Linked DNA regions of Homo sapiens: regions 1, 2, 3, 4, 5 and 6 are each linked to region 7. The links are contacts of gene promoters, found by promoter capture Hi-C in blood cells and fetal thymus (Javierre and others, 2016). All regions are on one chromosome and are shown on one strand. The core of a region is centred on a gene start or on the middle of the fragment in contact, and the rest is flanking DNA. Distances in the headings are between cores, read along the strand shown.

Region 1 (2,700 bases), core at 167-2,666, 620 kb after region 7:
AGCCTGGCACATTGCCTAAAACACAGTAGGCACTCAATAAATGTTAGTGCTTAAAGGCACATGTAGAAAATGAAAATTTCCTGGGTGCCTGCTAAGTGCTAGAGACTCTTGAAACTTCCCTTGGATTCTTCTTTTCACGCCAACACTTGAAACTTGGTATTTTCTTTCACATTTTATTTCTCCTCCCTTCCTTCCTTCATTTCTTCCTTCTTCCCTTCCCAATCCTTTTCCAGCTGTCTGAATGTATTTGCATGTGTTCTTGTAAGCAGTGTGTTGTTGTATGTGTGTATTTTCAGTTTGTGTTAAGACTAGAGTGTCCCTTCTCATCCTGTTTCCCATCTTTTTCACTCACCTTGTTTTGCCATCCACCAGCACCCAGACATTCCTGCCAGTGCTAGTGTCCTTAAATAGATCTCCTGGGATAGAACTTTGGAATATACGTCCAGGAGTGGGGCTGCTTGCTAGGTCCCTGCAGTGTCCATGTGTAATTTAACCTAGAGCGGCTGCAGTGGCCCACACTCCTACTGCAAGGCATGAAGCTTCCTTCGTTTCCACGTCTGTGCCAACATTGGCCTTCCCTAGCTTTCTAACATGTTTCAGTCTCATAGAGTGGTACCTCATGGTTATTTTAACTTGCATTTCTTGCCCCGATTTGGAGGAAAAGAATTGAAGTCTCAGAAAAGTGATGTTAGTGAGTAGCTGGGCTTGTGTTCATCTACCCGAGGCTTAGGCTCGAGGGCCCGGCTTCCCCTTGGATAGGCTGACGGCTCTGCCAGCAGCCGGGCCAGACAGCGTGGACACCGTCAGGAGAGTAGCCTTCTGCTGTGATAGAGCCCCACCTGGTGGCGCAGGAAGGGAAGGGGAAGGGGAAGGGCAAGAGGAGGGAAAGAAATGGAAGGGGAGAAATTTACTCCAGCAGCTGCACAAGGCCACGCCCTGCCACAGTCATTGCACACCTGGAGGACATGCGCCAGGCCTTAAGGGACTTAGGTTTAGCCTCTGCCTCTGGGAGGTGGAAGGAACTAGAATAGCTTCACCATTGAGGAGCCTATTGTTTTTAGCAAACGAAACCGGAACTTTTTTTTAAACAAAAAACACTTAGTATATTTCTTTTTAAAATGTACTTTTAACTAAAGTACAATATACCCATATAAAGGGCATAAATCCCAAGTGCACAGCTCAATGAATTTTCTAAGCTAACTGGCCTCCGGTGGATCACATACCCCCTCTTCCAAGGATAGCCACCATCCTGACTTCCAACACTATAGATTAGGTCTAGGTTCTATTTTTTTTTTTTTTTGGCCTGGGTTGAAGGTTGTATAAATGGAACTCCACAGGTGTTCTTTTTTGTATTTTGCTACTTTTGCAGAATACGTTGTGTATAATGCATCCGTATTGTTTGGTCATTCTTGTTTTCATGCGGTATTCCATTGCATGATTATACTGCAAGATATGCTTTCTACTGTTGACTGATGGATATTTGGGTTGATTCCAGTTCTTGGTTATATAGAATAAAGTTGCTGCAAAAGTTAGCACATGTCTATTGGTGCACACATCCATTGGCGCACACGTCTATTGGTGTACACGTCCATTGGTGCACACGTCCATTGGCGCATACGTCCATTGGTTCATACATCCATTGGCGCACATGTCCATTAACACACACGTCTATTGGTGCACACGTTCATTGGCGCACACGTCCATTGATGCACACGTCTATTGATGCACACGTTCATTGGCGCACACGTCTATTGATGCACACGTCTATTGGCGCACACGTCCATTGGCACACACATCTATTGGCGCACACGTCTATTGGCGCACACGTCCATTGGCACACACATCTATTGGCGCACACGTTCATTGGTGCACACGTCTATTGGTGCACACGTCTATTGGTGCACACATCCATTGGTGCACACGTCTATTGGTGCACACGTCCATTGGTGCTTACATCTATTGGTGCACATGTGCATGCAGTTCTGTTCAGTATGTATGCATAGGAAATACCAGACCATAGAGGAGTGTATATTCAACTTTACTGGATGCTCCCAGTTTTCCTAAGTGGTTGTGCCAACCTGCAGGGCAATGGCAAGAGTGTGAGAGTTCTGATTGCTCCAGATTCTCACCAATGGGCTTTGCCATTGCCAGTCTTCAGCCATTCTAGTGTGTGCGTAGTGATTCTGCATCGTGTTTTATAACTTGCATATCCTGATGATTAATGACATTTTTTATGTTTATTGGTCACTTGGCTATCCTCTTTTGTGAAGTTTCTATACTAATAGAAGCTTTTGCCTATTTTTTCCACTGAGTGACCTGCCTTTTTCTTACCAATATATATAGGAGTTAAAAATATATCACCTGGATAGGAGTCCTTTGTCAGATATGTTGTCAGAAGAAATATCTTCTCTTGCTTGTGTTGCTGGCCTTTTCACTCTCTTAGTGATGTCTTGGATAAGTAGAAATTCTTTTCTTTTCTTGAGACAGGGTCTTGCTCTGTTGTCTAGGCTGGAGTGCAGTGGCATGATCGTGGCTCACTGCAGCCTTAACCTCCTGGGCTCAAGTGATCCTACCACCTCAGCCTCCTGAGTAGCTGGGACTACAGGCATCCACCACCATCCCTGGCTAATTAAATAAAGTTTCCTTTTGTATAGATAGGTCTTACTATGTTGCCCAGGCAGGTCTTGAACTCCTGGCCTC
Region 2 (2,700 bases), core at 45-2,544, 630 kb before region 7:
GCTACAGAGGCTGGGCTTGGATAAGGACCCCCGCACTTCTCCCCACAGGCCTGTATCAAGCAAGGTGGCAAAGCAAGGAAGGGCCACCACCTCCAAGTCCCTCCAGGCCCATTCTCCTGGGCCTCCTCCTGAGGACCCTCCTCCACCAAGGAGACCCCATACGACAGCCTACCTTGTCTGGCACACAGAGAGGAGGGGATGGCCCAGGGGCTGTGGGTGCCAGGCAGGGGTTGACCAGATGACCCTGAGCCTGTCAAACTAGGATCACACCAGCCAGATCCCTGAATCCAGCCCTCCCTCCCTCTCTAACTCCAGTTCAGAAACTCTGCCTTGTAGTCAGAATGGGCTGGGTTCTGTGGCAGGAATGTAAGTCTGCATACAGACAATAACCTTAACTCTCCATGGCTTCACATATCACAGGGTACTTCTCATGCTCACAAAGTCCAGGGCAATGCAGGCGACTCTCCAGGATAATTTCTTTTCTTTTCTTTTTGAGACAGGGTCTCACTCTGTTGCCAGCCTGAGAGCAGTGGCACAATCACGGCTCACTGCAGCCTCGACCTCCTGGACTCAAGTGATCCTCCCGTCTCAGCCTCCTGAATAGTTGGGACTGACACCCAGCTGATTTCTGTAACCAAGACGCTTTTCTTCCATGCCACAGCTCAGCAAACCAGGCTCCTCCTCTCTTGCAGCTGTGCCATGTCAACATGAGGCTTTAGGGGCAGAGAGAACTAAAGAGACACGAACTGGCTCTTAAATACTTTCATCCAGGCACTTCCACTCCCAGCCATAGGCCAGAATGAGCCTTATGATCCCATGCAGGCAGGAGGAGCTAGAGCGCAGGGGGAGTGTGTGCAGAGCCAGCGATCAATAGAAATCTGTCACCTGCCTGCTGGATGCCACCAGCTGCGGTCCACTCTGCTACCTCCCATGGGATCACTACCTCTCAAAACACCTGTTGGGGACTGACCTGACATAGACCTGGCACTGTGCTCAGCACTGGCTCTCCCATAATGACCAGGACAGACATGGTCCCATCCCATTCCTTAAGGGGCTCATATCGGAGAAGGGAGGGGATTGAACAGTCCCTCCTCAAAGTTCCTGGCCCCCATTTCTGTGTCCCTTTTTTGTGAGCATCACCATCCTTCCTGACTCACAGACCAAGCTTAGTCAGCTCTCAACCCTGGAATGAGCCTCAGTTTTCTCATCTGTACAATGGGGATAAAAAGAGACTTAACAGAGGTCATCTGATGATCATGAGAAAGCAAGTCTCCAATTGGTGCAGCCTAAACAGCCACCAGGCAGTGGGACCAGGATTCAAGCTCCATCATCTGATTCCATCGCTCGAGTCTCTTCTGTGGCCCTTCCTCTTCCTCCTTAGCTGGGTGGACCCTGCAGAGTTTGCCTCAAACATTGAAGCTTTTGCTAAGAAGGAGGGGATCTGAGAGTCCAACTTTCCAGCCACAGCCAAGGTGAGCCGGGCCTGGCCTTGAGCCAACTTGGTCCCCTGAAGACTGCCTGAACTAGCCCAGCCTGATCCCCAAGGCATCCCTGGAACTGGCCCTGGCTCAGGTCATTCCAGGAGGGCCACAGCAGCTGTCCTTCAACCCAGGACCCAGACAGGGCCAGCTCCAAGCCCCTCACTCCCACCACCCTTTCTCCACATGTAGATGTGGTCAAAAACCTTACCATGGGACTGGTAAGGCCACCACGGCCACCATTAGAAACCTGATCCCGAGTTGCTGATTAAAACCAGGAGGGGTTTTTAATCAGCTGAGGCCATATGCTATTTAACCAAAGATGAAAGCACGAGTGATAAGCATCGTCTCAGAAAGGATGTCATTAAAGGAAGAGCAGAACAGCAAGAGGCAGCTTTTATCATTAGAGAAGCCCCTTGCAAAGCTCTCGTGAGGGGCTTCGGGGAACATCTGGGCTCGGTCTATTATGCAGTACTTACAACGTCATTGTGTTTGACAACGGCTCCTGAGCCCACGCCACACTAAACTTCTAAATATACAATTAATGTCTATTAATTATAGTTTTCAAATCAGCAAAATGAGCCTTCATTAACTTAATCGCCTCTTCTATTTTATCAGGAAATTGTACTCTTGGTGTTCATAATCCCCGCATCTGAAACCCCCCTTTGACAGGCGGCATGTGATGCTTGGCTGACTGTTTAAGGGAAGGCCTGCCTGTCCTCCCCGCATCTAGGCACCCCGCCTAATCCACCCTCGGCCATGAGACGTGAAGCCACTGAGGGCCTCCGAAGTATTCCAAAGGGTTTGTGAGCAGGCATGTGGTCCGGGAGATGGTGTTGGAAGTGAGGCGGCAGCTGCCATCATGGTACCTGGTCAAGCTGGAGCCCAGCTCAGATGGAACTGAATCTGAACCAGTATGTGTTGGGGGGATGATGTGGACAGGAAACTGGCCACTGCCTCTTGCATCTCTTTGGACCCTAGGCAGCCCTCCTTCTCACTGTCAGCAGCCTTGGGGATTATCTCGCTGCTCACAACAGCCGGTGTCTTATGATGTAATTAACCCCATTGCAGACACGGGCAAACTGAGACTCACAGAGGGGAAACGGTTTCCTCAGGACTGCAGAGCAAATTGTTGGCCATGCTGAGCCTTCAACTCAGCTCATCTAATGCCCAAGATAGGGCCTCACCCTGAGTTTGCATATATAATGGAGGTCACTGTTTT
Region 3 (2,700 bases), core at 101-2,600, 700 kb before region 7:
TTTGAGAAAACCCTGAGATATAGATTTTCTATAGGAAATTTCCTGGCTTTTAAATATTAGTCTCTAGCCCAGTGCCTGGAACATATATAGTAGCATTCACTTACAGCACATTAGGCCAGGGAAAGCCTTTACTTATTGTCTGAGAAATAGATCCCTGGAAACAAGAAGGACAAATCTTTGAAGCTGTGGCTCAGCAGAGAGAAAGTCTACAACACTGGACCCAGCTGCCCAGACTCCCAAGGCTAGTCATTCTTTTTAAGGCAATGAAAGAATCTGTCAAGAATGCAATTCTTGCTTTTTTCAATACATGAAAGTCTATGGCTTTAATTATAGAGAATTGGAAACACTGTGCAACCTGCTCCTAACCTGTGTAATCTCCATTCAGAACCGCAGAAGGTCTGATCCAATATCCTTGACCTGTGAAGGCAGATGCAATTTCTAGGAGGGCGGGAGCTGACTTTTCTTTTCATTCTTCAACCACATCCCCATTCCTACACTATCTCATAGAGCAGAGAAGTTGCTGAATAAATAGTCAAGGTTTAAAAATGAAATCATTGCTCCCTACTTAAAGAGGTAAAGACTTCTTTCTTAGACAGAGAATCAGATCCTTCACATGCAGAATCATTCTCACTGAATGTCAGAATCAGAAGGGATCCTCAAAATTCTGCCATTCCTCTCTCCCGTCACCCCATTTTACAGATAGAAAAACTGAGGTTCGGAGAGCTAAAACAGGCCTGCCCAGGGGCCTTACCAGACTTCCAGGATGGTGTCATTCCTTTCAAGGGCCTGCAGGAGGGCTTCTGCCCCTAGGTAGGTGATGCAGTTATTGGACAACCTGGAAAAGAAGATACAATGGTGAGCTTCAAGGATTCTTGGTTTTCCTCTTGAAACTGTCCAGTTAAAGAGACTGCAGGAGTTAGCCAGTCTACTGAAGCCCACCTGTCCCTTAGACACATCCTGCTCATGTCTGAGATTCCCAATGAGCTCATCAACAAAGGCTCAGTACCATCAGTGAAATGTAACCGTCTCTCTTCCATTCACTAGATGAGTTTATCAAATTAAGTAGCCACTCCCTTAGGATAGTGGTTAAGTACCTGCATTTTAGTGCTAGACATCCTGGGTTTAAATCCCACCTACACCACTTCTTTTTTGATCTCGAGCAAATTAGTCCCAATCTCCTCATTGGTAAAATGGGCCTAAAAGAGTACCCGTGCCATCGAGCATAAGAATCTAAATTGTGATGGGTGTAAGCAGGCTCCTATTCACATCCACCATCCATCTCCTTGTGGCATGGGTCCTGGGCCATTAAGTCAGCCACCAGTCCCCCATTACCTCCCCACACTCTGCTTGCTGGGAAGACCCACCACTCTCTGCATGCCTAAAACACTTGCACAGTACTTGATATGGTTTGGCTGTGTCCCCACCCAAATCTCTTGAATTCCCACGTGTTGTGGGAGCGACCCAGTGGAAGGTAATTGAATCCCATCCTGTTCTCATTACAGTAAATAAGTTTCATGATATCTGATGGTTTTAAAAAGGGGAGTTTCCCTGAACAAGCCCTCTTCTCCTGTCTGCTGCCATGTGAGATGTGCCTTTCACCTTCAGCCATGATTGTGAGACCTCCCCAGCCACGTGGAACTGTAAGTTCAATAAAACTCTTTCTTTCATAAAGTGCCCAGTCTTGGGTATATCTTTATCATCAGCATGAAAACGGACTAATACAGTACTTAATTGATAGAAAATAACCAATGAGCAGTAATATTTCTATTTTCAGGGGGGTCTTTGAGGGCACAGAGACAGAGATTAGAGAACATATGAGGTAGCTGACAACAGGGAGGGGAGACAGGATAGGGCCAGGGACAGCAACAGAGGAGTCATGTGTTTCCCAGGTTGCTCTTTTGGTTACAGCTTTGCCTTCCAATAATGTCCACTCCAGGTCCTCCCCCTTTCCCACAATTTCAGGAATGTCTTACAAGTTGACCCTAAGGCAATGCCAATTGTAATTGCCAGTATTTATTGAACTTCTATTAGATTGGTGCAAAAGTAATTGCAGTTTTTGCATTGTTGAAATTTGCCATTTGATATTGGAATACATTCTTAAATAAATGTGGTTATGCTATACATCATTTTAATGCACAATTCTCACTTTATGATTTTTTGCTAATGACTTAATACTTTCTGTTTATTTTATATTTATTTTAGACTATGAAAATGATGTTAGACAAAAAGCAAATTCAAGCAATTTTCTTATTTGAATTCAAAATGGGTTGTAAAGCAGCGGAGACAACTCACAACATCAGCAATGCATTTGGCCCAGGAACTGCTAACTAACGTATAGTGCAGTGGTGGTTCAAGAAGTTTTGCGAAGGAGATAAGAGCCTTGAAGATGAGGAGTGTACTGGCAGGCCATCAGAAGCTGACAATGACCAATTGAGAGCAATCATCAAAGCTGATTTTCTTACAACTACTTGAGAACTCAACATCGACCATTCCATGGTCATTCAGCATTTGAAGCAAATTGGAAAGGTGAAAAACCTCGATAAGTGTGTGCCTCATGAGCTGAGTGAAAACCAAGAAAATCGTCATTTTGAAGTGTCATCTTCTCTTATTCTACACAACAACAGCGAACCATTTCTTGATCTGATTGTGACGTGCGATGAAAAGTGGATTTTATACAACTGGCAATGACTAGCTCAGTGG
Region 4 (2,700 bases), core at 201-2,700, 640 kb before region 7:
ATTAAGGAAATTTGCACAAACTAAACTTGGCACTGGGTGGAGTACAGGGAACTTCCTCTGAGAATTTGAACTGCAAGCGGGCACTCGCCCATGTTTTAGGGCTGAATACACACAGCATGGTCCAAAATCCCTCAAGCAGAGAAATCATGTTAAAGTGGTCTCAGGTGGAGGTGTTCCAGGTGCCTCAAGACCTGGAGATCTTTAGGTCTTCCCTGGGGCTGAAGGATGTCAGCATCAAGCCAGGCCTATAAGAAGTGTAGGATCCTGTTGAGTTCAGAGGTGCTGAAATGTGAAAAAAAAAAGTCATCTCAAAATCACAGATAGATGATATGTGTGGGGTGTTGGGGGGGTGGGGCGGGGGGTGCACACAGAGAGAAAATACTTATATGGGAGTAAAGGAGCCTATAGAATCACATGGGGGGTTCCCCATAAGTACCTCTGAAGAGGGGTTGGCTTCCCACACAGTGCACAGGAAATGGATTTATTCAGGCTTCCCAAAAAGGGACTGGCCACATGGGGCAGCTTCAGGACCATCACTTTGCCTTTTCCCGATGACACTCAATGCTGCCCCTCCTCGTGCTTCTGGCAGCCTTGGCCTGAGCATCCACGGGAGTTTCTTCTGGCCATGGACACTGCATCTTCATCCACTACAAGTTGTCTGATGGACTGGGATGGCCTGCCACAGCCAGCTCCTCCTGGCATCTCCCATATGCTGCAGCAGTTAGAGCCCACTCGTTCCTTGGGTTCCTGGAACAAGTCCTTGAATTCCTTAGGCCCCCACCTCCAGCAAGCTTTCCGCAGGGCCCACTGCAGCCCCACCGGGGTACCCCACCTCCCTGTTTGCCTGGGCCCTCTCCCACGCCACCTGTATTAGTCCTTGTTTCTAGGGGACTTTAGAGTGGTGGCAGCTGGGACTGAACATTCTTCTCCTGACCCCTCAAAAGCTGGGTCCACAGGAGAGGTGAGGGGGTACCTGACCTCCATACCCAGGATGGAGCCTTGTTAGGAACACAGAATTTCAGGCCCCACCCTAGACCTGCTTAATCGGAGTCTGCACTTTAACAAGAGCATCCCCCACTGCCGCAGGTGACTCTTACCTGCATACCTCAAAGGTTGAGAAGCCCAGTGTTGAACTGACTTGAAGGCACCTCAATGAAAATCATCCATGGAACTGGGCCATCTGTGGTCCTGGGTTCATCCCCATCCTTCTCTTCTCTCCACCCGGGCCCTCTACCATACAGGTGCCTCATCCCAGGGGACTGCAGATGGGACTACCATGCCAGCCTCACAACCATACCTGCAAAACCACTCTGGGCATTTGGACTGGAGCTTAAAGGGGTTCATTCCAATGAAGCCCTCCCTGCTGCAGCAGCCACTCCCCCCCACTGGCTGTGATGGAGTCCTGGGGTCTCCACTTTGAGCTGGGATTAGGCATCCTCATGAGACCCTGTCCCCTGGGATGCCGGCAGTTCCCTGCCAAGCCCACAATTGAAAACAAGCTCTGCAAGCAGCTCCCTGTGCGGTAAAAGTCAGGGCTCCCCAGGCCTACTGTGTGACCAGGCACTGCCGGGCCATTGATAGCACCGTCACTCCAGCTCTGCTTGGGACATGTTCCTATCCCATTTTTCAGTTGAGGAAAATGTGATCATTTGTAACATTGTAACCTGAGGGGGTTAAGTGACTTGCCCAGGGTTACACAGCTAATAACTGGACCAGGAAATTAAGACCAGGCTTTAATTTGACCCAAGCCCTACTTTCCTTGCTGAACTCCACATTAAAGGATGTGGAGGAGAGGGGAAGGGATATGTTCCTGGTCCCCTCACCGAAATGGGTCCTTGATATGGTTTGGATGCATGGTGGTCACCTCCAAATCTCATGCTGAATGTGACTCCCAGTGTTGAAGGTGTGGCCTGGTGGGAGATGTTTGGCTCATGGGGGCAGGTCCCTCATGGATGGCTTGGTGCCCTCCCCGTGGTAATGAATGAGTTCTCACTCTGTTAGTTTACATGAGAGCTGGTTGTTTAGAAGAGCCTGACATGGCTCTTGCTCCCTCTCTTGCCATGTAAGTCACGAACTCCCCCTTCCCCTTCCACCATAAGTGGAAGCTTCCTGAAGCTTCACAAGAAGCAATGCTGGTGCCATGCTTCTGTACAACCTGCACAACTGTGAGCCAAATAACCCTCTTTTCTTTATAAGCTACCCAACCTCAGGTATTCCTTTATAGCAATGCAAAATGGACTGACACGCCTTTAAAGATCATTTCACTCACCTCTGTTTACAGATGGGGAAATCAAGGCCTGGAGAGATGACTTATCCAGGGTCACGTGGCGAGACAGGGACAGCACCAGAACCAGACCCGAGATGTCCACGTCAAAGTGACATGCTCTGAGAGGCAGCACACACAGAATAACCCTGCATCCAAATTCCAGGAAGCTCTTAGGGGTCATCCAGCTGGGCCTAGGGGTGCAGGGTCAGTGCTGAGGCCTGGGCAGGGCCGCTAGCCTCCCTGAGCTTTCTGGCTTCAGGCTGGGAGGCACAGTTCAGGGTGGACTGTGACCCCTTGGCCTAGAATGCCCTTAGCTCTGCTCTCTAGTGGCTGTCCCCATAGCTGGAACTCTGTTTTGGAGTGGCAAAACCAGTTCCACCTGCTGGTAGGGGTAGGTTGGCTCCCAACACATCCCCAGCAGGCCTCTCTTGGGC
Region 5 (2,700 bases), core at 138-2,637, 660 kb before region 7:
ATACCACTTTACACTCACAAAGGTGCCCTTAGTCCAAAGGACAGAAAACAAGTGCTGGAAATAATGTGGAGAAACTGGAAGCCTCATACATTGGTGGTTAGAGCGTAAAGTGGTGAAGCCACTGTGGAAAATAGTTTGTGGGTTCTTCATAAAGTTAAACATGGTGTTACCATATGATCCAGCAATTCTACTCCTAGGTATACTCAACAGAATTGAAGCATATATGCACACAAATGCTTGTACACAAATGTTCATAGCAACATTATTCATAAGAGGAAAAAGTGGAAGCAAACTAAATGTCCCTCAGCTGATGAATGGATAAAGAAAATGTGATCTATCTGTGCAATGGAATATTATTCAGCTGTGAAAAAAACAAAGTACTGATAAATGCTACAACATAAATGAACCTTGAAAACATTATGCTAAGTGAAAGAAGCCAGTCACAAAATGACATCTATTGTGTAAGTCCGTTTACATGCAATGTCCGGAATAGGCAAACCCATGAAGACAGAAAGTAGATTTGTTGGTTGCCAGGAACTGAGAGGAGGGAGGAATGAGGAGTGACTGCTAGTGGGCATGAGGTTTGGTTTTTGTTTTGTTTTGTTTTGTTTTGTTTTTGCATGATGAAAATATTCCGGAATTAGATCATGGTGATGGTTACACAACCTTGTGAATGGACTAAAAACCAGTGAATTACACACCTTAAAAGGGTGAGTTTTATGGTATGTGAATTATATCTCAATGAAAAACAGTTGGGCTGCCAAATGCTTTGTGTAGAAAGAATATAAGGCTAAATTTAAAGAGTAGGTTGTTTTTTAACAAGGATGCCAAGATAATTCAAAGGGGAAAAATGATCTCTTTAACACATGGTGCTGGGAAAACTAGATATCCACGTGCAAAAGAAATGAATTTGGACTACTACCTCATACTTTATACAAAAATTCTGTAATAGATATGTGTGAATATATGCATTGAAACATCTAAAAGACAAGTTAGGATCGGATTTTAACTGGACTTTTAAAATTCTTCTGTGTTAACCTGTATTTCCTAATAAGCATAATTTACTTGTTTAATAATAATTTTTTAAAACTTTCCAATGAGTTAAGGGATATTGATTAAAAACTCCCTGTGTGCAGGGCCCTCTGCCGAGACAGGCAATTGGGATGCCCTGGAGACATTTCTGTCCTTGAGTGCTCTGACATGGGCACCGTGCAGGAAGTGCTCAGAAGAGGCGGAGGGAAAATGCTTCCAGAATCCCCCGGGCCTCAGAGGAGAGAAATCCTTGGATTGTGTCATTCAAAATTCTTCCAGGCCGGGAAGCTGCCTGTGCCTGAGCACTTCCCCCAGGAGCGAGGACTGCCCCCATCAGCAGGCCTGGATAGTAGGAGCTCAGCCCAGGACCGACGGCGGCTGCTGCTGCTGACAGTGGTGGTAACCCGGCCTCATAGTGGGCTGCAGTCTCCACGCTGGTGGTCCTCTGCTCCAAGCAGCCCGCCCACTCACCAAAGTCCAAACACTTCCACAAGCTGGCCCAAATGGATGAAGACAGGAATGGCTTTCCCTCCCCACATCTCTGCACCCCTAGCTTCACCAACTTCCCGCAGCTCTCAGTACTCCCACCTGTGAGCTTCTGCTCACTCTGTGCCCCAGGCAGAGGCAACAGGTGGCAACTGCAAGGACTCTGGCCCCAGCGAACTTGGATTTGAATTCCAGCCCTGCTCCTTAGCGGCTGTATGCTCTTGGCCAGTCATTTCATTTCTCTTGACCTCAGTCTCCCTCACAGTTAAGTGAGGATGACAGTCCACTTAGATCTTGTCATGAGGGATGCATACACTAGGACTCGGTGCCTGGTAAACAGTGAGCACACCACAGTGTGAATATGTTATTGAACACTTGCCATATGCCACGCCGTGTACTCTCACAACACCTCTATGGAATAGGTTCCATTCCTCATCCCCATCTTTGACAGGAAGAAACGGAGGTTTCAAGAGGATCATGAATTTCCTAAGATGACCCAGCTATGGAATGGTGGGACTATGAGTCAAGTCCACGTCCTTCTCTACCTGCTTTTATCTGGACCTTCCATGCCCACCTCCTGCAAGGAAGCTCTCCAGACCCCACAGTCCCTGTGGGCTCTCCCAGTCCTCTCAGCTGCAAAGATCAGCCTGCCTGTTCTCCTGTTGGCCATCAGCCGAGACGGTCCAACACTGTTGGCCCAAGTTCCATGTGTCCGTCCTGTGTATCACCAGTCTCTGAGGGTTCAAGGTATCCCTTCCTTGTCCCTTCCTTGTTGCTGGACCTCAGCCTCTGGCCCAGTGCTTGGCCAAGTCTGTTTTCAGAGTGACTTTTTTTTTTTTTCCGAGGTGGAGTCTCACTCTGTTGCCTAGGCTGGAGTGCAGTGGCGCCATCTCAGCTCACTGCAACCTCCGCCCCCTGGGCTCAAGCGATTGTCCTGTCTCAGCCTCCCAGGTAGCTGGGACTACAGGCATATGCCATCATGCCCAGCTAATTTTTGTATTTTTAGTAGAGACAAGGTTTCAGCATGTTAGCCAGGTTGGTCTCAAACCCTTGACCTCAGGTGATCTGCCTGCCTTAGCCTCCCAGGCTAGGATTACAGGCGTAAGCCACTGCGCCCTATCCATGGGTGACTTACTGACAGAGGGACAATGCTTGAAAGAAGGACACATTGGAGCAGGCAGC
Region 6 (2,700 bases), core at 93-2,592, 590 kb before region 7:
TCTGAGTCCATTCTCTGCCTCTGATTCCTGTTTAGCCCAGCCATTTTTCCGCTTGAGAAATTATCTTTTGGGGGCCTAATTTCAGGGGGTGCTGATCATACTGATCACTCTTCAATTGAAAGTCTGAGGAACTATAGGAGACACTGCTCATTTGGAAGAAAAAAGGAAAGCAGGAGACCGGGTGGGGAAAAAAGGCCTTTCACTTGCCTAAGAAGCACTTTTGGGTGACTTAGAGCAGGAGGTGGCAAACTACACTTGCTGAGCCAAACCTGGCCCACCTCCTGTTTTTGTAAATAAAGTTTTATTGGGACACAGCCATGCTCATCTGCATTGTCCATGGCTTCTTTCACTCTGTGACAGCAGAGTTGAACTGTTGCAACAGAGCCCACAAAGTCTAAAATACATACTATCCGGCCCTTCATGAAAAAGTCTGTGGATTGATTGCTGCTTTAGATGTGTGCCACCCTCTACTTCCACCAGGATATGTGCTTGATGAGCAGGGCACAGACAGTTTCACCTATTACTTGCCTGCTTGGCTGGAAATCCTTGTGCAGTACACAACCTGCCCAACCATACAGTGGCTGTGGAAGAAAGAAAATGTCAACTCTGCTTTCTTAAGGCCTATTGTCAGCCCATATGAATCTGGGGGGTTGGTAATGGTTTGTGGAGTTCCCTCTCTTTGGAAACTGCTCCCTGTCCCTCCTCACACCACAGCCACGAGGAGTCAGCTTGCTGTGTTTACCAAATGACGGTTCTCTCCCCATTAGCTCCCAGCCTGGCAGCTCTCCACCCTCAGCAACTGCCAGATTAAAGGCATTACTTGACCATCTTCACCCGGCTCCCTTTGATGTTCCCTTCTCAAGCTTCAAAATACCTTTTGGAGGGAGATCAGACAGCATTAAACAGAATTACTAATTAATTAAGCAAAGTTAAATTTTAAACACTGTTTGTTGTGTTAGCCAAAAGCCTGAACAGACTTTTTTCCTCCGCTGAGATCAAAGACAGTCTCTTCCCTCTCCCCTCCCCCAGTTTAAAAAAGGGAGGGGTGGGGAGGAAGAGAGAGCGAAAGAAGAAGAGTGAGGAAATACCTGAATGGTGACAACTTTGACTGTGGGTCTAGACACCCCTCCCGCCTCCCCATGGGCCCAATGGGAGGCTCCTTGGGGACCGCATGCTGTGAGAGCCACAGTCACTCGGGACTGTTTACCCTGGCAAATGGCAGTGACCCAGGGAGCAGGATGGCACAGCCCACCCAGCCCAAGCTGCTGACAGCTGGCGCCACCCAAACAGCAAGAGAAGAAGGCCTGTGAAATAAAACAGACCTGTCCTCCTCAACAGTACAACAGGGTGAGCTCCTCGGGGCTCTTCCCCTTGGTCTGGGGTCACTTGAGGTCACTAGGAGACCGGATCCAAGAAGCAGGCTGTGCACTGTACAACCCCAGGTGGTGCCACTCATATGACCAATACCCTAGATATGTGTATTGCTTATGACATCCTTTGGACAGATGGCAGAAAGGTGTCTTGAGGAGGGGCAGCTTTTTTCTAATTTGCATGAATGCATCCGGAGCTAGTGGGGTGCTGTCTCCCGCCATTCAGTCTAGCACTTTATTCTGTACAGTCCTATCTGGGACCTTCTGATTGCTTCACAGGAGCCTCCACATCTGCACAGCCAGAAAGCAAGTTTCTTGAGATCTGGCGCCTTCTAGGCTTCTGCTCCCGGGTTGCCCAATGCCTAGCACTTCCCATACGTGCACAGGGCAGAGATTCCGCCAGGCCTGCTGAACTACAGCACATTCTACAGGTAGGCATAAGGAAGCTTGGCTACATAACAAATATGCCATACCTTCTGCCTTGATGGAGACTGGGAAGTGCCATGGGGAGGTGGGGAGTTGAAATTTACATAAAAATCCAAACCTGGGATGATACCAGTAAATGCCAGCTTATCTTAACACAATCCAGAAAGGCCTGGTGCATATGAAACTTGGAAAGAAGAGACAAATTTGAAACACAGTTATGACTAAATCAGCCCCACTAAAGACCAGAAATTACTAACAATTCAATTGCATGGCAGACCCCTCTCTTAGCCTAGTTACCTGGCAAGTTCTTCTCAGTGAATACAATGTAAGATTTAACACAAGCCAGAACTTCCTTGCTAGAGTCTGGATGCTCGCCCTGACATATCCACAGTCCTTTCTCAATCGTCCACGTACAGATTATCTGCTGCAAATATTTTAGTCTCAGGGTTGCTTGCCAAGATGTTTGAGTCCACAACCTTCTGACAGCAGCTGTTCGAGGGAATGCAGATGAATTTTAATATTAGCCTCTGCCAAATATAATTAGGCGGGTAAATCTGCTGCCAGTAAAAAGAGAAAGATATCATATGTGCATTCCAGGCCAAATGGTTTCTTGCAGTATCTGTATCAGGCTCTCCTTAGGGAATGAGGGTCCTAGCGATCCCACCTCTGTTTGTAAACACAGCCACATACTGTGGTGGGCTGCATGGAGAGGCTGGTGAAGTTAGTAGTACCACACATTATTCCATTAAGTCCTCTTAACACTGTGCAGGGTGTGCTACTGTTGGCATCGTACAAAAGAGGAAACTGAGCTTAAAAACCAAAACTGATTATGCCGTTTCCCTGCTTAAACCCCTCCAGTGGCCCCCTTTCCCCTAAGGAGGGGTCCAAAGGCTTCCACGACCCG
Region 7 (2,700 bases), core at 43-2,542:
AAAAGTATCAATTGTTAGTTTTCCCTTAAAATAACATTCAGGAACTTACTTCTCCAGCGTCCAGTAGCAGGTTGCAAACAATGAATATATTCAGTAAGTCTCCTCTCAAAAGCCTTGAGATCTAGGTATAAAGATGTCAATTTTCTAATTAGCCACTCTTACTCGTCTGACGAAATGTCAGAGTATTTACCTAACATTAAGACGACATGTGAGATACTCTTAACTGCTTCAGGTCTTACACACTAACTTCCATGTATCACTGCACTGTTTATTTCATTTACTATGACAGCTTTTTAAGCACTTGACAAAAAATTAGGGCTCTTTAATTCCAATTTCTCATATAAGAAAACTTGCTGATTTACTTTTAGAAGCTTCATAAATGGTATTGGGAGAAATAAGCAGCAGCCTCGGCCAGCGCCAAAAGCGAACATTTTCAGGGTTGCAAATAAAATTAAAATCAGGTCGAGTTTTAGCTCTCTGGGAACCAAGAACTTCCTATTAGAACCACGTAGTGCCTAACATCAAAGTCTTCGAGGTCTACCTGACTGCAATTACCCGCCTCCGGTTTCCAGCTCTTATATTTAATTAATGGCTACGCCGTCTGGCCTTACTAGACTTCTTGACACTGATAGCGAGTGGGTGTGGAAAGACATTCCCCTTGCCCCCTCCGAAGGGGTACAGGTGATCTTCGTGGCACCCAGGCAGCGCCTAGTTCTAGAAGACAGGGGCGTCTAAGCTGCTCCGAGTGAGTGGTGGGGTATCCTTTCCGCAGTGGTGTGCTTTAAACTTTAAAACACCGAGCAGCACTTCCTAACCTTGGCAGTTACCGGAAACCACCGCAGGAATCAGGGATACAACTCGCGGGGCTGTGAGAATGAAATGAAATGAATTAGCAGGCTGCAATGCACGAAGTGCAAGTGTCTGCCAGTGAAAAGAAAATAAAAATAGAAGCTGGCGAGGAGGTCGACCCTCTAGGTTTGTGGGGACTCAGGGAGCTGAGGCACCGCCCCCCGCGTCTGGCCAGGTACGGCCGCCTACGCGCCCCCAAGCTCCGGGCCCCTAGCTCCATCCTCTGCGGCCTCCTCCCGGGGCGGGGGTCTTCACGACGCCGGCTCCTCCGGAGCACCGCCAGCTTCCGAGGGGAGACGGGGGACGGGCCCGGGCGGCCCACCCTACCTTCCGCCTGCTCCAGCGAGTTCATGTCGGGCGGCAGCTCGGGTCACCGCCGCTGCCCTGTCCGCATCGCAGCTTCCGCGGCCCCCGCCCGGCCCGCAGCGCCAACTCCCACCTCTAACCGCTCCCCGCTGCCCCTCCCCGTCGCACCGCCCCTTGCCTAGACCCGCTACGCTCATTGGATTCCTCTACTAGACCTCCAACTAAGACAGCTTTCTATTGGCTGTCTCTTGCACCGGCCTCGGCGCCTAGCGTTGGACGGTCAGCCGGAGGGACCAAGAACTGCCGGCGGCCAGGCGGGCGTAACGCTGGCGTCGCCTGCTGCCCCGGGGAGGAACTGCAGCCCTCCGGAGCCAGTTCGTTCATTCATTTATCCCCCGTTCCCCGCTTGGTTCTTTCATTCGTCAAATGTTGATTGAGCGCCCACTACCTTCCAGGCATTATTCTGGTCGCTAGCGAGGGATACAGAAATCAAAGAGCTGGTTCTGTCCTCAAGGATCTCAAGGAGTAATGAAATCTGTACAGAACTAACTAGAACCCTAAATAACCAGTTTCCTTAATTATGGTATCCTAGATAACCAACCCCTTAAGTAAACACTTCTCTCTTGGTTACTTTCCTCTCACATCACCCAGCTTTCATAATTCCTAAATGAGGCAAAGTGTAAGCCCAAATACCTATAACTTAAGAAGAGATCTGTAAGGGATTGACTACATTTGTATTTGATCACAAGGCCTTCTTGTTCATTTATTGGTGGCATTCTTTCATTCAAAATCATTTTATTGCCTAACATGCTAGACACTGTATTGATACGCGTGTGAGCCAGGTAGACAGGATTCCTGCCCGCAAAGAGGAAGGGCTACAGCAGGCAACAAACATGCAAATAAGTAATTGATTTCAAATAAGAATAGTTGTGTTAAAATAGAGATCCTGGCCGGGCGCGGTGGCTCACGCCTGTTAATCCCAACACTCTGGGAGGCTGAGGCGCGTGGATCACTTGAGGTCAGGAGTTGAGACCAGCCTGGGCAACATGACAAAACCCTGTTTCTACTGAAAATACAAAAAAATTATCCAGACGTGGTGGTGCATGCCTGTAATCCCAGCTCTTTGGGAGGCTGAGGCACGAGAGTCACTTGAACCCAGGAGACGGAGGTTGCAGTGAGCCACTGCACTCCAGCCTGGGTGACAGCGTGAGACTGTCAAAAAAGAAAAAGAAAAAAAAAAGAATCTAAGACTGATGGGCTAGATTTTTTTGTGGCAGTAACATACCAACTTATAAACAAGACCTAAGGCCCTGCCAGGCAAGGGTTAAATCACTCAAGACCCAGACACTTAAAGAATAAACGATGTTCTAACTGCCACAATGTTCGTTTTTTTCCTCTAGCAGCTAAACAAGCAATATTAAAACAATTGCAGCTTACCAAGTACCAGTCACTGACTAACTGATCCCTTTGTTCCACAAGCCATAACTCCTGCTTTCATTAGACAAGAGACTGATTTCAGTAACTTTCTCCTGATAAGAGACCACC

Evidence for each region. The method cuts DNA at HindIII sites, captures the fragments that hold promoters and counts their contacts. A CHiCAGO score of 5 or more calls a contact.
Region 1: a fragment that was not itself captured here is called in contact with the fragment with the promoter of CNEP1R1 in region 7 in 3 of 17 cell types (endothelial precursors, fetal thymus and total CD4 T cells); the score reaches 7.4 in endothelial precursors.
Region 2: a fragment that was not itself captured here is called in contact with the fragment with the promoter of CNEP1R1 in region 7 in 13 of 17 cell types (total CD8 T cells, naive B cells, total CD4 T cells and 10 more); the score reaches 12.0 in total CD8 T cells.
Region 3: a fragment that was not itself captured here is called in contact with the fragment with the promoter of CNEP1R1 in region 7 in 4 of 17 cell types (neutrophils, naive CD8 T cells, total B cells and 1 more); the score reaches 6.9 in neutrophils.
Region 4: a contact is called between a fragment that was not itself captured here and the fragment with the promoter of CNEP1R1 in region 7, in 12 of 17 cell types (total CD8 T cells, naive B cells, neutrophils and 9 more). The highest score is 12.8, in total CD8 T cells.
Region 5: a fragment that was not itself captured here is called in contact with the fragment with the promoter of CNEP1R1 in region 7 in 5 of 17 cell types (naive CD8 T cells, total CD8 T cells, naive B cells and 2 more); the score reaches 7.7 in naive CD8 T cells.
Region 6: a contact is called between a fragment that was not itself captured here and the fragment with the promoter of CNEP1R1 in region 7, in 6 of 17 cell types (naive CD8 T cells, activated CD4 T cells, naive B cells and 3 more). The highest score is 8.8, in naive CD8 T cells.

What each region holds. Positions count from the first base shown.
Region 1 is chr16:49,406,254-49,408,953 of GRCh38, reverse strand. The region is part of intron 7 of LOC105371244 (a long non-coding RNA gene); the gene reads left to right. Among named protein-coding and RNA genes, the nearest start is that of C16orf78, 34 kb to the right of the region's middle. The HindIII fragment of the contact is 1,749 bases long and covers 542-2,290 here.
Region 2 is chr16:50,652,342-50,655,041 of GRCh38, reverse strand. No RefSeq gene overlaps it. Among named protein-coding and RNA genes, the nearest start is that of SNX20, 28 kb to the left of the region's middle. RefSeq lists a silencer at 488-668. The HindIII fragment of the contact is 254 bases long and covers 1,168-1,421 here.
Region 3 is chr16:50,727,953-50,730,652 of GRCh38, reverse strand. NOD2 (nucleotide binding oligomerization domain containing 2) reads right to left here. Exons shown (of 12, transcript NM_001370466.1): 11 at 752-835. It overlaps CYLD-AS1 (CYLD antisense RNA 1), which reads left to right. Exons shown (of 7, transcript NR_184279.1): 5 at 700-810; 6 at 1,503-1,640; 7 at 2,203-2,700. Among named protein-coding and RNA genes, the nearest start is that of CYLD, 13 kb to the left of the region's middle. The HindIII fragment of the contact is 3,218 bases long and covers 1-2,700 here.
Region 4 is chr16:50,668,730-50,671,429 of GRCh38, reverse strand. It overlaps LOC101927272 (a long non-coding RNA gene), which reads right to left and starts at 2,575. Exons shown (of 3, transcript NR_110908.1): 1 at 2,270-2,575; 2 at 437-747; 3 at 1-282. It also overlaps a transcript of SNX20 not described here. The HindIII fragment of the contact is 1,314 bases long and covers 794-2,107 here.
Region 5 is chr16:50,686,925-50,689,624 of GRCh38, reverse strand. No RefSeq gene overlaps it. Among named protein-coding and RNA genes, the nearest start is that of NOD2, 5.3 kb to the left of the region's middle. The HindIII fragment of the contact is 3,251 bases long and covers 1-2,700 here.
Region 6 is chr16:50,615,634-50,618,333 of GRCh38, reverse strand. All of the region lies in intron 4 of NKD1 (NKD inhibitor of Wnt signaling pathway 1), which reads right to left. Among named protein-coding and RNA genes, the nearest start is that of NKD1-AS1, 3.3 kb to the right of the region's middle. The HindIII fragment of the contact is 953 bases long and covers 866-1,818 here.
Region 7 is chr16:50,023,817-50,026,516 of GRCh38, reverse strand. CNEP1R1 (CTD nuclear envelope phosphatase 1 regulatory subunit 1) reads right to left here and starts at 1,292. Exons shown (of 6, transcript NM_001281789.2): 1 at 1,177-1,292; 2 at 50-121. The coding sequence starts at 1,201. RefSeq lists a silencer at 979-1,288 and an enhancer at 1,102-1,603. The HindIII fragment of the contact is 11,127 bases long and covers 374-2,700 here.